5 separate regions of the Homo sapiens genome follow, and all the other regions are linked to region 4. Evidence: promoter capture Hi-C in 16 types of primary human blood cells and fetal thymus (Javierre and others, 2016). All regions are on one chromosome and are shown on one strand. Each heading gives the region's core, a stretch centred on a gene start or on the middle of the fragment in contact. The rest is flanking DNA. Distances are from core to core; before and after follow the strand shown.

What was found. The method cuts DNA at HindIII sites, captures the fragments that hold promoters and counts their contacts. A CHiCAGO score of 5 or more calls a contact.
Region 1: the fragment with the promoter of RXYLT1 here is called in contact with the fragment with the promoter of SLC16A7 in region 4 in 3 of 17 cell types (non-activated CD4 T cells, total CD8 T cells and naive CD8 T cells); the score reaches 10.5 in non-activated CD4 T cells.
Region 2: a contact is called between the fragment with the promoter of XPOT here and the fragment with the promoter of SLC16A7 in region 4, in 1 of 17 cell types (activated CD4 T cells). The highest score is 5.1, in activated CD4 T cells.
Region 3: a fragment that was not itself captured here is called in contact with the fragment with the promoter of SLC16A7 in region 4 in 1 of 17 cell types (naive CD8 T cells); the score reaches 7.3 in naive CD8 T cells.
Region 5: a contact is called between a fragment that was not itself captured here and the fragment with the promoter of SLC16A7 in region 4, in 1 of 17 cell types (non-activated CD4 T cells). The highest score is 5.1, in non-activated CD4 T cells.

What each region holds. Positions count from the first base shown.
Region 1 is chr12:63,778,595-63,781,294 of GRCh38, forward strand. RXYLT1 (ribitol xylosyltransferase 1) reads left to right here and starts at 1,315. Exons shown (of 6, transcript NM_014254.3): 1 at 1,315-1,535; 2 at 2,425-2,580. The coding sequence starts at 1,367. RefSeq lists silencers at 1,134-1,363, 1,380-1,655, 1,384-1,683. The HindIII fragment of the contact is 1,854 bases long and covers 269-2,122 here.
Region 2 is chr12:64,403,116-64,405,815 of GRCh38, forward strand. It overlaps XPOT (exportin for tRNA), which reads left to right and starts at 1,277. Exons shown (of 25, transcript NM_007235.6): 1 at 1,277-1,689. RefSeq lists enhancers at 852-901, 1,999-2,700 and silencers at 1,292-1,451, 1,782-1,891. The HindIII fragment of the contact is 10,073 bases long and covers 1-2,700 here.
Region 3 is chr12:62,597,291-62,599,990 of GRCh38, forward strand. It overlaps MON2 (MON2 regulator of endosome-to-Golgi trafficking), which reads left to right. Exons shown (of 35, transcript NM_015026.3): 35 at 1-2,700. Among named protein-coding and RNA genes, the nearest start is that of MIRLET7IHG, 4.1 kb to the right of the region's middle. The HindIII fragment of the contact is 7,638 bases long and covers 1-2,700 here.
Region 4 is chr12:59,594,645-59,597,344 of GRCh38, forward strand. It overlaps SLC16A7 (solute carrier family 16 member 7), which reads left to right and starts at 1,385. Exons shown (of 6, transcript NM_001270623.2): 1 at 1,385-1,592. RefSeq lists a silencer at 1,314-1,383 and enhancers at 1,854-1,993, 2,044-2,193. The HindIII fragment of the contact is 11,642 bases long and covers 1-2,700 here.
Region 5 is chr12:62,615,007-62,617,706 of GRCh38, forward strand. MIRLET7IHG (MIRLET7I host gene) reads left to right here. Exons shown (of 2, transcript NR_186001.1): 2 at 1-2,700. Among named protein-coding and RNA genes, the nearest start is that of MIRLET7I, 13 kb to the left of the region's middle. The HindIII fragment of the contact is 2,304 bases long and covers 192-2,495 here.

The DNA of each region.
Region 1 (2,700 bases), core at 65-2,564, 4.2 Mb after region 4:
TACCTTGTATGCATTTCTCAATAGTAAAACCATTAGTCAGTAGCATCTGAATGTACATTGATACAGTGGGTGTTTTGTGGTAATTATAAGGTAATTACTTCCTATCCTTAAATAATTGTCATTTCCACAAACAAACAAAATAGGATAAACAACAATACAGCATACATAAAACAACTGCCATCTCCCTAAGACACCAGAATAGCCTGTTAATCAAGGAAAGCTAAATTTATTAAATCTACTACAGTAAGGGAGGCCACACTTTGACAGAAGCTTGGCAGTCTCAGAAGGAGAAGGTTGGGGGTGATATTTATAGGATTTGGGGAGTCTGAGCAAAAATGGTTTAAAACAGGTCTTTTGAGGCAGGGAACTGTTTGGGGGATTGGGTAAAGTGTTTGACCTAATAGTTTAGGGTCGGTGCTAGAGTGACCAATTTTACTGATTTCCTAGGACTTTCTCAATTTTAGCACTAAAAATCCTCCAACTGGAGAATCCTTACAGTCCTGGGCAAACTGGGACCATTGGTCACCCTAATTAGCAGACATACCGTCGCAAGACTGCTGGGTAATTTGAACAGTAGTACCAGAGCAACTGACAAAACATTGTAGCCCATCTTCCCAAGGCTGGATACAAAGTTTTCTGAAGCATTCACATTTACAGCCTCTATTTGACAAAATACTGCATGCCTATGTGCGTTCAACTCACATAATAATGAAACTTAACTTTAAAAATGTTTTTATTGCAGTAAGGTATATAAAACATGAATTCGACAGTTTAACTATTTCTATGCATACAAGTGAGTGGTATTAATTACATTCACAATGTTAAGCGACCATCATCACTTAATTTTTTTAAAGGACGTTTATATTCACTCATCTATCAACGTAGTAGGCACTGTCCTAGGCGCTAGGGATTCCATGCAGAGCAAAAAACGTCACAGTCCATGCCTTCACATGGCCTTCATGGACCACCGCGGGTGTTCTTTTTCCCCCGAGTCTTTATGTACTTGGGAAAAGTGGCCAGGGTTGAAAGGTGCAATGAGTACACGGCAGAGGTCAGAGAGGTTCCCACTCAGCCCGGCGTCTGGAAGCAGCGTGGGGTAGGGGCCGCTCCAGTACCCCCTCCTCCAGTGTCGAAGGTGGGCAGGCCCTCGGCCGGGTGGATGAGCCGCGACTGGAGGGGGCGGGGCCTGGGCGGGAGGCGGGCGGTGGGCGTGTCCGGGGCGGGGCTGTACCGGGCGCTGGGCGGAGGAGCCTTGGCTGGGGACTGCCTGGAAACGGGCTGGGCCTGCCTCGGACGCCGCCGGTGTCGCGGATTCTCTTTCCGCCCGCTCCATGGCGGTGGATGCCTGACTGGAAGCCCGAGTGGGATGCGGCTGACGCGGAAGCGGCTCTGCTCGTTTCTTATCGCCCTGTACTGCCTATTCTCCCTCTACGCTGCCTACCACGTCTTCTTCGGGCGCCGCCGCCAGGCGCCGGCCGGGTCCCCGCGGGGCCTCAGGAAGGGGGCGGCCCCCGCGCGGGAGAGACGCGGCCGAGGTAGGACTGGGTCGGCGGCTTCCTTCCGGCTCTGCGCTCCTGGCTGGGGCTGCTGGGCGGCTGGGGCCGGGTCCCCGCACCCGGCTCTCAAGTCCGGGATTACCCGCAGGGCCTGAGAAGCGCTTTGCCCCCTACAGCCTCTCGAGCCAGCCCTTGGCTCGGAATTGGAGAATGGTCCTCATTCTTACCCAGATCTCACACGCCGTCCCCGCTCCCGATCCCAGGGGGTGACAGGCGCGCACGCCTTTCAAACACGTGTTAAAATCCAAGACGTCGTCTCAAATGCCAGAGATTTGCGGGAATGCTCCTGGAAGGCCTCAAAATCGCCGCAAGGTTTAAGACATCCGTTTCCATGTTGAAACAAAGCCCTCTCTAATCCTGCAGTGACCATAAGGCAGACTTTACCTCCAAATTCTGGTCCCCTGTCCTGTGTTTTAACTTGTGTTAAGATCAGACTCGGCTTTCTCTTTCCCTTTATTCAGAATTTTGCACGATAGTATCTAAGACTGGTGAACACTACACTCTGAAGTCAGTTTTTTGTGCATAGGTTACCTGTATACAATGGATAAAAATAATTGCAAAAGTTAAGCTTGTAACTTGATACATATTATCCTGTTATTTTTAAAGGTTTTGTGTTGGGGAAGAGAATTTTCCTGTCTCAAGGTAGCATTTTATTTCTAAGACTTTTCAGAGTAAAAAAAGTTCAGTAAAAAAATTGCTGATTTTCTTTTTTGTTTTCATTGTGTATTACCAGTTTAAATTCAGTTGCTGTACCTCTCAGAAATTAAAGTTAGGATGAAATTAGAACTAACACTTAATTTAAATGATTTGAATTTACCTACAACTGCAATAATACCTTACTGGTAAACACTTACTCTTTTTAAAACAGAACAGTCCACTTTGGAAAGTGAAGAATGGAATCCTTGGGAAGGAGATGAAAAAAATGAGCAACAACACAGATTTAAAACTAGCCTTCAAATATTAGATAAATCCACGAAAGGAAAAACAGATCTCAGTGTACAAATCTGGGGCAAAGCTGCCATTGGTAAGTTAATACGTAGAAGGAAGACATGTAAAAAGCATTATAAAATGTATTTTATTGATATGAAATTCATTTTAATATAATTTATTTCATAATTTGTTAATTAAGGCATCATGATATATT
Region 2 (2,700 bases), core at 27-2,526, 4.8 Mb after region 4:
TTTTAAACACATAAATTAGAAACATGATGCAAGAGTGATTCAAGGTATTTTATATAGGAAATGCCTGGTGTAGTGTCTTGGACAGCTAAATAAAGGTAGCTGTTAAAACATTAGTTTTATTCTATGCTCTTACCATTCCTCCCTCTCCAAGTTTTGTTTGTAGTCTGTGGCAGCAACCTAGTCTGTATTTAGTACACATTGAATAATCAACAATGAAATGTAAATATTGAGCACATTGTGTGTCAAACACATGTATTAACTCAAACCTCACAGAAACCCTTTGAGGTCGGTACTATTAACAATCCCCATTTTACATACGAGTAAACTGAAGCATGGATAGACTAAAGTAAAGTGCCTGAGGTCAACTAGTGAGGAGGCGGAGTGGCAGTCAAGTCGAGGCAGCCTAAGCCTACACTGCCTCTATGTTGCATTAATAAATTAATAAATCTGTGACCAAATAAATGAAGTGACATTTAGTAGCATCGAAAGATCCCGTGAGTAGGACTTCCTAAGAATGCTCTCCTTCTTTTCATGGACAAAATTTTAGTCTGTTTAAAATAAATTTTGGACCGGACACCGTGGCTCACGCCTGTAATCCCAGTACTTTGGGAGGCCGAGGCAGGTGATCACTTGAGGTCAGGAGTTCGAGATCAGCCTGTCCAACATGGTGCAACCCTGTCTCTACGAAAAATACAAAAATTAGCTGGGTATGGTGGCGCGCGCCTGTCATCCCAGCTACTCAGGAGGCTGATGCAGGAGAACTGCTTGAACCCCGGAGGCGGAGGTTGCAGTGAGCCAAGATCTCGCCATTGCACCCCATCCTGGGCGACAGAGCGAGACTCCGTCTCAAAGAATAAATAAATAAATTAATTAATTAATTTTGAAAACCTGTCAGCACTCATCAGAGCTTTACACTGCTGTACTCGGGACACTTGGGGCCGTAGACAAGCAATTAAATTGACTCACACGTGGTTAGAACCACGTCATCCTGATTCGTGAATCCGTACTCTCAACTACTAGAAGCCCTTTGTGGAATGCTCGGGGCGAACCTGACGCTTGAGCTCTGACACCACGCAGACACAGCCGGGGATTTAGGAGCTGGGTAGGGACTCCTGGGCCGGATGCCTCATCCCGGCATGCACCTCAAGCCCCGGTGACCACGCCTTCCGGCGAGCGCCAGGGAGCGCGTGTGCGCCTCGCCGCCCGGAAGCGCCGGCCGCTCCCTGCATGCTGGGAGTTGTAGGCCTCCGGCGTCAGCCCGCGGGCTGCCGCCCGCACTCTCCAAGAGACTGCTGGCGCCGGCGCCCGCCCGCGCGGCACCGACGCGGGGAGCGCGCTTCGCGCTGACTCAGCGGCGGCGGCGGCTGCGGCGGCGGCGGCGGCGTTAGCCGGCCCTCGCGCTCTTTCCCTTCCTGGGGCGCCGACCCCGCCCGCTTGCTTGCTTGCTTGCTTGCCTGCCTGCCTGCCTGCCCGGCGCCACGCAAGAGAAGGTGCCAGGGGACGCAGAGCGACTAGAGGCGCGCGGTCCCGGCCAGCACCGTCTCTGGCGTTGTAGCTGCGGCCGTGGCGGAGGACTACGGCGACAAGGACGAGGGCCGCTCTCCCAGCTCTCTGCGTGCCGCGCCGCTCCGCTCCGCTGGCTGACCATCTGGAGTGCAGGCTGGGAGGCGGGATGGAGTGATAGGGAAGGTGACTCGGGGCTCGGGGGCAGCGGGACCGGGACCAGGTTTGGTCCGCGTGAGGCTTCGAGGAAGTTGGCCGGGGCGGACCGGCCCGGGGGAGTCCCGACGCCAGGGAGGGTGCAGGCTTGGGACCCTCTATGGCGGTGCACCCCCTGGCTGGGCGGACCGGGTGGGGGTGGGTACGAGCCGGGGCCGCCGCCGAGGAGCGCGTCCCGAGTGCGTGGCCGGCGGTTGCTTGGTGTTTCATCACCCGAATTGCCACGAGGCTTCCTTTAGGGGAGGGATCGGGGGAGGGATGGGAGCAAGGCTAGCAGAGGAGGGTCGGCATCGCCTGTGGTTCCGAAGCCCGTTAGTCATCGTTGTAGCGTTATCAACTGTGGAGACCTCAAACTTGATTCTTCCCCCACCCCTGGACAAAAAGGAAAAGTGTTATTTCTGTGCAGTAATTGGCCAGCACGGACGCTCCATTTCTTCTCAAACCTTCCTCACCATCCTGCAGGACTAGAGAAGCATGAGGTTTCCCTGTAACCAGAAAAACGAGTACTTTTTGAAAGTGCTAATTAGTTGTGGCGGGCGGGGGTTGGGGGAGAGTTACGTTTTATTAAACCGACTTGTCAGCGTGGTGTTAAAAGGCTGGAAAGATTCAGTCGTAGTATTTGAAACAGTCTTCAGTAGGTGTAGAGGAATTTTTCCAAATTGTTTGATTCTTAATGGCTATCCAGGAAAAGTTAAGGCTTAATATTTTAAGTATGTTGCTTGCCTTCCCCCAAGAACCTTTGCAAGATGCATAATTGTTTACCGTATTGAAACATTTTTTGGGGTTTTGTTGTTGTTGTTTTGAGACGGAGTCTCGCTCGGTCGCCCAGGCTGCAGTGCAGTGGTGCCATCTCGGCTCACTGCAACCTCTGCCTCCCAGGTTCAAGTGATTCTGCAGCCTCAGCCTCCCGAGTAGCTCTATTACAGGTGCGCCCCGCCACACCTGGCTACTTTTTGTATTTTTCGTAGAGATGGAGTTTCA
Region 3 (2,700 bases), core at 15-2,514, 3.0 Mb after region 4:
CTGATTTTTCTCTTTTAATTCCTCTTTCATTCTCTGCCTCTTCTCTTTCAGCTCTTTCTCTAATTGTGCCTATTCCTTGTTCATAAGAAGTGGAGCTGTTAGTGGTAGAACCACTGCTCATGGTTCTACCACTACAAAGTGGAAAGTAGAAATACTTTGCACTTTGGCCACTGTTGCGTTTTTGCCAAGGTAAAGTTCCCCTGCCATTTTGAAATAGCTGAACAAGTTAAAGTAATATGTTCCAAAAACTGGAAGTGCCATAAAAAACTAAAAATAAAAAAAAATTGTGACTATAACTCCTACTGTCTTTATGAATACACGGGATTCAGCAGCCAAGATGCTCACAAAATGGGATTGCTATAAATATGATGGATTCAGCACCTAAATTTGGAATAATCATGTCTTTTCTGTTATGTGGGTAGAGAGATTATATATCTTTTCTCAAAGTAAAGTATTTAAAACCTGTTTAAATGAGGGTTTTGGCTGGCGTGGTGGCCCACACCTGTAATCCCAGCACTTTGGGAAGCCAAGGTGGGAGTATCACTTGAGGCCAGGAGTTTGAGACTAGCCTAGACAACATAGCAAGATCCTATCTCTAGTTCAAAAAAATATTTTTAATTAGGGTTTTGGTTTTTTATGATTTTGGGGGGTGGGGGAGATATTTGTTTTTTTGAGGCAGACGTTTAAACTTTTAGATTTATCCCATCTTAATATTGATTTATATTGACACTGCCTACTTACAAGAATAATTTGAGGCAGCATATTGCCCATGTATTTCAACTATTTTCATTTTTCTGTTGCAAAGCAGTCTTTGATGGAAGACCCGGAATCTTATAGTTCTCATATCTGAGTCTTTCTGGAGTGTATTTGGTGTCTGTGTGATTGGTTCACCCAGAGGTCACCCAGAGGTCAATTGAAACCTTCCTAATTGTACTATGGTATTGATTCTATCCCCTCAAGTATGAAAAAATTAAATTTTCAGACCATTTTCAGTTGCTGCGAATGTAGTTACACTAAGTTTTATTTTAAACTAAAATTCAATAAACAGTGCAGCCAGGGAAGATCTGCTAAACCATGCCGTTATTTGGAAAATCATTGCAATATATTAACAACTGCTTCCTTCTATGATGTTTACTAGATGGAGAAAAATACTCCATACCTATATTGCAATTTTATTTTTATCTAGAAAAAGAAAATATTAGGCTTCAGACCCAACTGTGCAAATTTCATTTGCTTTCCATCTCTTACTACTACCTCTGTGTCATAATTTAACACGTAACATACAACTCCTGTCTCTTAAGGCAGCTACCATATGGTGTTTATGTCAGACTGGATATATTTATCTAATTTTGTGAAATTATTTTTTAGTTCCCAACACAATTCTTGAAAGTAATACCACTGTTGTTACTCTTTCTCCTTACAATTTTTATGTTGTTGAGATGTATCAGTTATGTATTATAATCATGAAATTGTATTGGCCTCAAACCCAAATTTTCTTTGTAGTCTAGGATAGATTTTTCATGAAAGCTATATAGTTATAACTGTGATTGTACAGATTGTTTATTTGTTTTACAGCTAACATTAAGCATGATTCCAGGTTTTTAATTATGTTCCAGCAACACTAGTGTTTCTTTATAACTTAAAATCATAACCACTTTGATAATTTACCTTTGGATCTGACCAGTGATTCATTTTTTTCTTGAATATACTTTGTGTTTGCTTTCTCATCCCCGTTAAGTCTGAAACATTATTGACACCCCACATCACTTACTCTGTTTAAAGACTTTACGAGTAGTGAGTCACATGTTTAGGATGATCACTTTGGGAAAAAAAAAATTATAGAGTAAAGGGGAAATGTTCTTGAGAGCTTTATTAAAACCATTAATATATAAAATGAAAAAATAATAAACAGAAGACACGAAGTGTCTCTCAATAGTTTAGAAAGAAAGATTTGGAACTTTAAGTAAAAATGCTAGGTCAAGTAAAAATCCTGATGTAGATTAGATTATCTTAATCTTATGAGCATTTTTTTTTAATTTGGTGAAGCTGTTTTGAAACTGCCTGTCCATATCAATGCCAGACTATCTCTCTACCTCTCAAAGAAAATAATTTGCATTAAAATTCCTTTTTTTGTTATGTAATGAAAGTATAAAACAAGAATTTGTACGTTACTCAGTGTGTACTGCAGTCAGATATAGTTAAAATAATTTTTCTGATGCGTAATTTTAACCACCATTTCTGGAGTACCTAGTATGTGCAGGCCAAGGCTTTGCCTATATTATTCCCTTTAATCCTCAAAGTAGCCTTGCAAAGAAGTTATTTTCATTTTACAGAAGAGTCAAGGATTAGGGGGTTGAAGTGAGCTGCCTAGAGTCACATACCTAAAGTCCAGGTGGATCACTATGTCTTGCTTTTTCAAAAGCAGTTCTTTCTACTACAGTACAATAGTTTCATGTTTTACAGTCCATTAAAATCCAAGACTTATAAAATAAACTAAAAATACTCTTGAGGCAATTACTATTTCTATGATGGGCACTGGGACAAATATACTTGAACATAACAAAGAACTAAAAATACTGTGAAAAAAAGATTTGTCTTAACGATGACCTTGAAAGTTGCATTGGGTTTTTATTATTGGTCCAGGTTTAAAACATTTTATCTATTTAAAACATATGTTGTGTGTTTTAAGAAGTTATGTTA
Region 4 (2,700 bases), core at 135-2,634:
AATGTGCCTTTATGTTGTTTCTTTTAAATGTTTAACTTTTTTTAATTAAATGAAGTGTTTATAGTCACTGCTAGACATTTCATCATTATCAAAGGCCTATTATGTCTTATACAAATGTCTATTTAAGCATTTTTAGCTTAAAAATATAAAATCCTTTCTGTAATTTTCTGCCTTTTTTTCATTTTCAAATATCATTCTTTCAATAAAATTATCTTCCAGTAATTTTGATGTTATTAATCACGATTATTTTTTCATCTTGTATTATGCCTACCAGCCACTTCATGTATATTATTTCACTTAAATCTTATGAAATCAACACGATTGATATTACTTTTATTTCATAGCTACAGAAATTGAAATTCAAATTTCGTCCATTACAACAGACTAGCTGTGGCAAAGACAATGTGAATTTACCCAAATGACTTAACTCTTTTTATAAATTCGTAAAATGTGAAGAATCATAGAACACACCTTAAAATGATTGTGAAATCAAGGAGGAGAAAGCTAGCTAAACTGGTAGACAAACTGCAATAGGACTTGTCAAGCCAAAACCTACAATTATTCTTTTGGATAGTTTCTTTTTCTCTAAAGTGGCAATTTAACTTAAAGATATTAAAGAAACCCAATCTATGGGGTTACTTAAATGTTCTCTTCCAGCCCTTCCTCTTTCCAGTTTTACCAAGAAGCACATTTTAGACAGGGGAAGAGACCAAACCAATGACAGCAGAATTACCATTATCTCTAGCACTATTCGTTGTCAAATAACTAAATGCTGGTTTGAAGAACTAAGTAATTTGAGAAATTAAAAATGAAAGGAATTATAAATGATTTGAAAAAAAATCCTTCTTATTTTTAATGTTTTTTGGTGCTGTTTTCTATGTCCTTCCTCCTATGGTGTCAATTATATTTTTTTCCGTGAAGTGATTTGGTTGGTGAGTCTAATCTCCAACAGTGCCCTACCTCTTTCTCCCAAAAAGGCCTCAGTTGAAAAATGGCTCAACACTTTCCCTGCAAGCTCACAATGAGGATCTCCTATTCTCCCTGCATTCGGCCAGACTCTTCTTTTTTTGCATGCTTTCCTCTCCCATGCTTGGGTTGCACAGAGCTACCGCACATCTGTCTTCTAGGTCAGGCTACAGAGTACTTCGGATACAGCAAGTTACGACCCATCTGGAAAGACAGATCTACCTGCCTTTTGGCTTTCTTCCTTGGTCAAAACTAAAATCCGAAGTGGAGTGCCCCGAGCGATAGAGAAAGTGCCTATAGCTTTGACAGCCGCTTGGAGCATGCTCAGTCGGTCTCCAGGCACCGGGAGGCGGCTCCCCCCCACCACCCCCCGGGCCGGCCTCCACCGCAGCCTGTCCGGCCCCCACCCCTGGCGCGCGCTCCTCCGCACCCACAAGGGCGTTCAGCAGCCGCGCCTCCCCTTCCCGCCACCGCCTCCTTCTCCGCTGGCTGTGGCGGGCGAGGACACGTCAGGGGCCATAAATAAATAAATAATTCCATTCACCCGTTGACAGCGAGGCGAATCGGCTGCGGTTTGCTGGGAACGGAGGGCTGCAGCGCCCACCCTGCGCCAGAGACCAGATAAAGTAAGTACAGCTGGGGAGGGAGGGGAGAGGAGGAGGAGGAGGAGGAGGTGCCGGCTAAGAGGAGGGCGAGCCTGCGTCTGCGACCCGAGCTGCCCGCGGAGCCGCACGCGTGTGTGCAAATAATGGCCAGCCTGTGACAAACGTGCCAACGCAGAGTTGGCCAGCGAGCCCTTATATAGACAAAAAAATCCCGAAGCGGCCGCGGGAGCAGAGCTCGCGTCAGCCAGTGCGCGCCGACAGCTGCCCGGGAACTGAGGGGGCGCGCGGGGTCCTGGGCAAGGAGCGCCTCGCGTGCTTTCGGCCAGGAGGTGCTCACGCTCTCGGCTTTTACACCGAGACTCAGCGTGGCGCGGTGCACCCCAGTCTCCCTGGCTCACGGGACTCCGAGGGCTGCTTCCAGTGCGGCGTGTCTCTAGTGCGCGCCCCGCCAGCATCCGGCCCCCGAGCCCCCTAGGGTGGCGTGGCTTCATTGCCGCAGAAGGTGGAGGCGGGGGTGGAGTGTGTGGAGAGAACGTCTTCTCTTTGAGCAGATGATCAGGACAGGAAGAGGCTGTGAGGGGAAGACGAAATACCGGGGGATGGGGGGGTTGTCTTTCTTCATTTTTGGTCCCCAGGAAGGATGGCAGGGGTGGAAGCAGATGGAAAACTATATGCGGGCGAGGCCTGAGCCCAGGCAGAAAGGGACCTCTGACTTGGCAAGGGTTCAGGAGGGCCTGAGCCTTCTGGTCTTGCTGGGCCACTGCACCACATTGGGGGCGCCAGGCCCGGTCAGGTGGCGCCACAGGCTGCGAGCCCGCTCACGTGCGAACTGCCTGTTTTCTCAGCGGATGCTGCATCGCGGCGCCCTTCTCCACCCCCTTTTCTCCTCTACTTCCGCGAAAAGGATTGCAGACTGCCTTGGAAAGGGCGGTCGTGCCCAGTGCCACTTTCCCGGTAGGGCTGAGGAGGGACTTCTGTAGTTCCAATTCCAGGGAAATTAAAATTTTACACACACACACACACACACACACACACACACACACACACACACACACGAGACATAGAAGAGGAAACGAGGAGTGGTTTCTCTACAATTGTTTTTTGATTTCCTTTCCTGTATTATTTCGTG
Region 5 (2,700 bases), core at 94-2,593, 3.0 Mb after region 4:
CTCTCTCTCTCTCTTTCAGTAAGTGAAGTAAGAAATAGGTCTTTCTTGAGGAACAAAAAGCTGAAATAATTTCATGCATTTGAATATGACCCTTGACCTGTTTTTGTCCATCATCACTCAGATTTGTGGCTGCAACCACCAACCAATTTGGTGCCATAGGATATAGCATAATTTTTCAGCAACAGTTCATAAGCTTTTCTTTTTGTTCTTTTTCCTTCTTCCAGTTGTGGTGGTTTAAAAACATGTCTGCAAAATCTTTGACACTTCTCAGTAAAAAATATAGTCTTGTGTTCCCTTTTCTTGAACCTAAGTGGCCTTTGTGCTGCCTCAACAAATAGAATATGACAGAAAAGACACTATGTGACTTTTGAGACAGGGTCATAAGAGGTGATACAGCTTCCCCATGCCCCTGCATTTTAGAGCTCTGGGTTGCCATGTAAGAATAGCTACCCTGAAGCTACCATGCTGAAGAGACCACAGGGAAATCACATAGAGTTAGAAAGAGGTGTCTGAAGAAGCCCAGCTGCTCCCAATCCCAGCTATTTAAGTCCTCCCAGACCAGGTGCCATATATATGAGTGAGCAAGCCTTCAGATGGTTCCAGCACCAGCCACCATCTAGCTGTAAGCTCATGAGACCCCTTCAACGAAAACCATCTAGATTAGCTTAGTCAAGCCCCAGAACCGTGAAAGACAATAGACTTGCTATGGAGGTCGCCACATGCCTCTTTTTTCTCCCTTTGTGAATGGGATTATTTATAATGGTTACCCCATACCTACTCCACTATGTATATTGGGTATGAGGGAGAGATAATTTGTCTCACTAGCTGACAGATTTTTCAGACCTCAAGGAATGCCACGTGAGCTGTACTCACAGGACCACACACAAGTATCTTTATCCACACGTGACCTGATTTCACTGATAAAGTCCTGGACCTTGAGCCTGAGCCCAATGTCTTAATAAATGAGAATTTCAGAAGGTCTTGGGAGGGGGTGAGTATATTTTGCATGTGGGAAGGATGTAAATAATATGTGGCCTGAGAGCAGATTATGGTGGTTTGAAAATGTGTCCACCAATTCTTTAATACTACTCTCAACAAGAGGTGGAATCTGTGTCTCTTCCTTTGGAACATGAGTGGACCTTTGTGATTAAATGCAGCAGAAGGATGCTGTGTGAACTCTGAGACAGGGTAATAAGGGGTGATACAGCTGCCACCTAGTTCTTTCTCAGAACATGTGCCTTTGGAGCCCTGAGCTGCCATGGAAGAAAACCACCTACCCTGAAGCCACAACACTGGAAAGACCATGTGGAAGAACCACAGAGAGAGAGAAGAGGACCAAATGTGTGAGCCTTCCCAGCCCAGGCTCCAAATATGCAAGTAGTAAGCCTTCATTTCTTTTTGGTTTTAATTTTTTTTTTTAAATAAATCGAAATGGGTTCTCACTATGTTGCCCAGGCTGGTCTTGAACTCCTAAGCTCAAGTAATCCTCCTACCTCAGTCTCCCAAAGTGCTGGAATTGTAGGCATGAGCCACCATGCCCGGCTGCAATTAGTAAGTCTTCAGATGCTTCCATCACCAGCCACCATCCGATGACAACCCCATGAATGACCCTCAGCAAGAACTACCTAGCTGAATCCAGCCAAACTCCAGACCCATGAGAGAGAAATAAAATTGTTGTTTGAGTCACTAAATACGGAGTAATTTATATTATCAACAGATAACTGGAACCACAAGTGTAATTGTTAAAGGTAAAACTTTGAATACATTTATATTTGCCTTCTGCCACATTCCATAATTGACTTTTGTTCATGAACCTATTGGCAAGTTTGCCTTATTGCTTTTCCTTCTTCCCTCTTTTTTTTTTTTGTAACTTAAAAAATCATATAATAAAACAACACAAAAATGTATTTGAATGTAGGTTGAGTGACCGTAAATAAGCACAAAACTTCTCCTTCCTGTGACTCTCTTGTCTGTATATGCCAAGTATCTAACACAAGGCCTGCCTGGCACATAATTTTTTTTTTTAAATGTTAGTCTCTTTTATCATTCTTTTTCCCTGTCAGTGGTATTATCTTTACCCATGGAATCCAGCACCCTCATGCTGACTTATAGTTCCCCAAAGTCCCTAACCTCTACAGTCCTCTCCAACCCCCACCCCAGGCCTCTCTCTATGTTCCAGACATTTTCTGGCTTTTTACCATTATCCAAACTCTGAACTTATCTACTTAGTTTTTATAAAAAAACACAGAGTGACTACATAGCTAATATAAATAATGCCAGTGTTAACACAAAAATTTGACTTGAATGATTACAATAGCAAACTTCAATGTTTACCCCATGGAATAGGCAGAAAATTTCAAGCACTTTTCTAGGCCACCTGAGTCTATTTTGAGTAAGGATCCTTAAGTTGATACTCAAGTAATGACATTGATGCAATGTAGAAGACTATGCTAAAATTTGTCCTGGCTTCTCTCCATGCTATGGGCCATCTGTAAAGCTTTGGAGTCTAGGTCAGATGTATGCGTTGTCTCCTCTTTGCTACCATTTTTGTACAGATTTCTAATCTAAATAAAATTAATGGCAATAACAGTGTGGAAAGGGAAAGCCTAAAAGAAAGAGGGTTTTTGAAGAGTGGGGGACCAGAAAAGAAGAGGACAATTTTACCTGAATTGTTTTACTTTAGAAAATAAATTTGTTCAT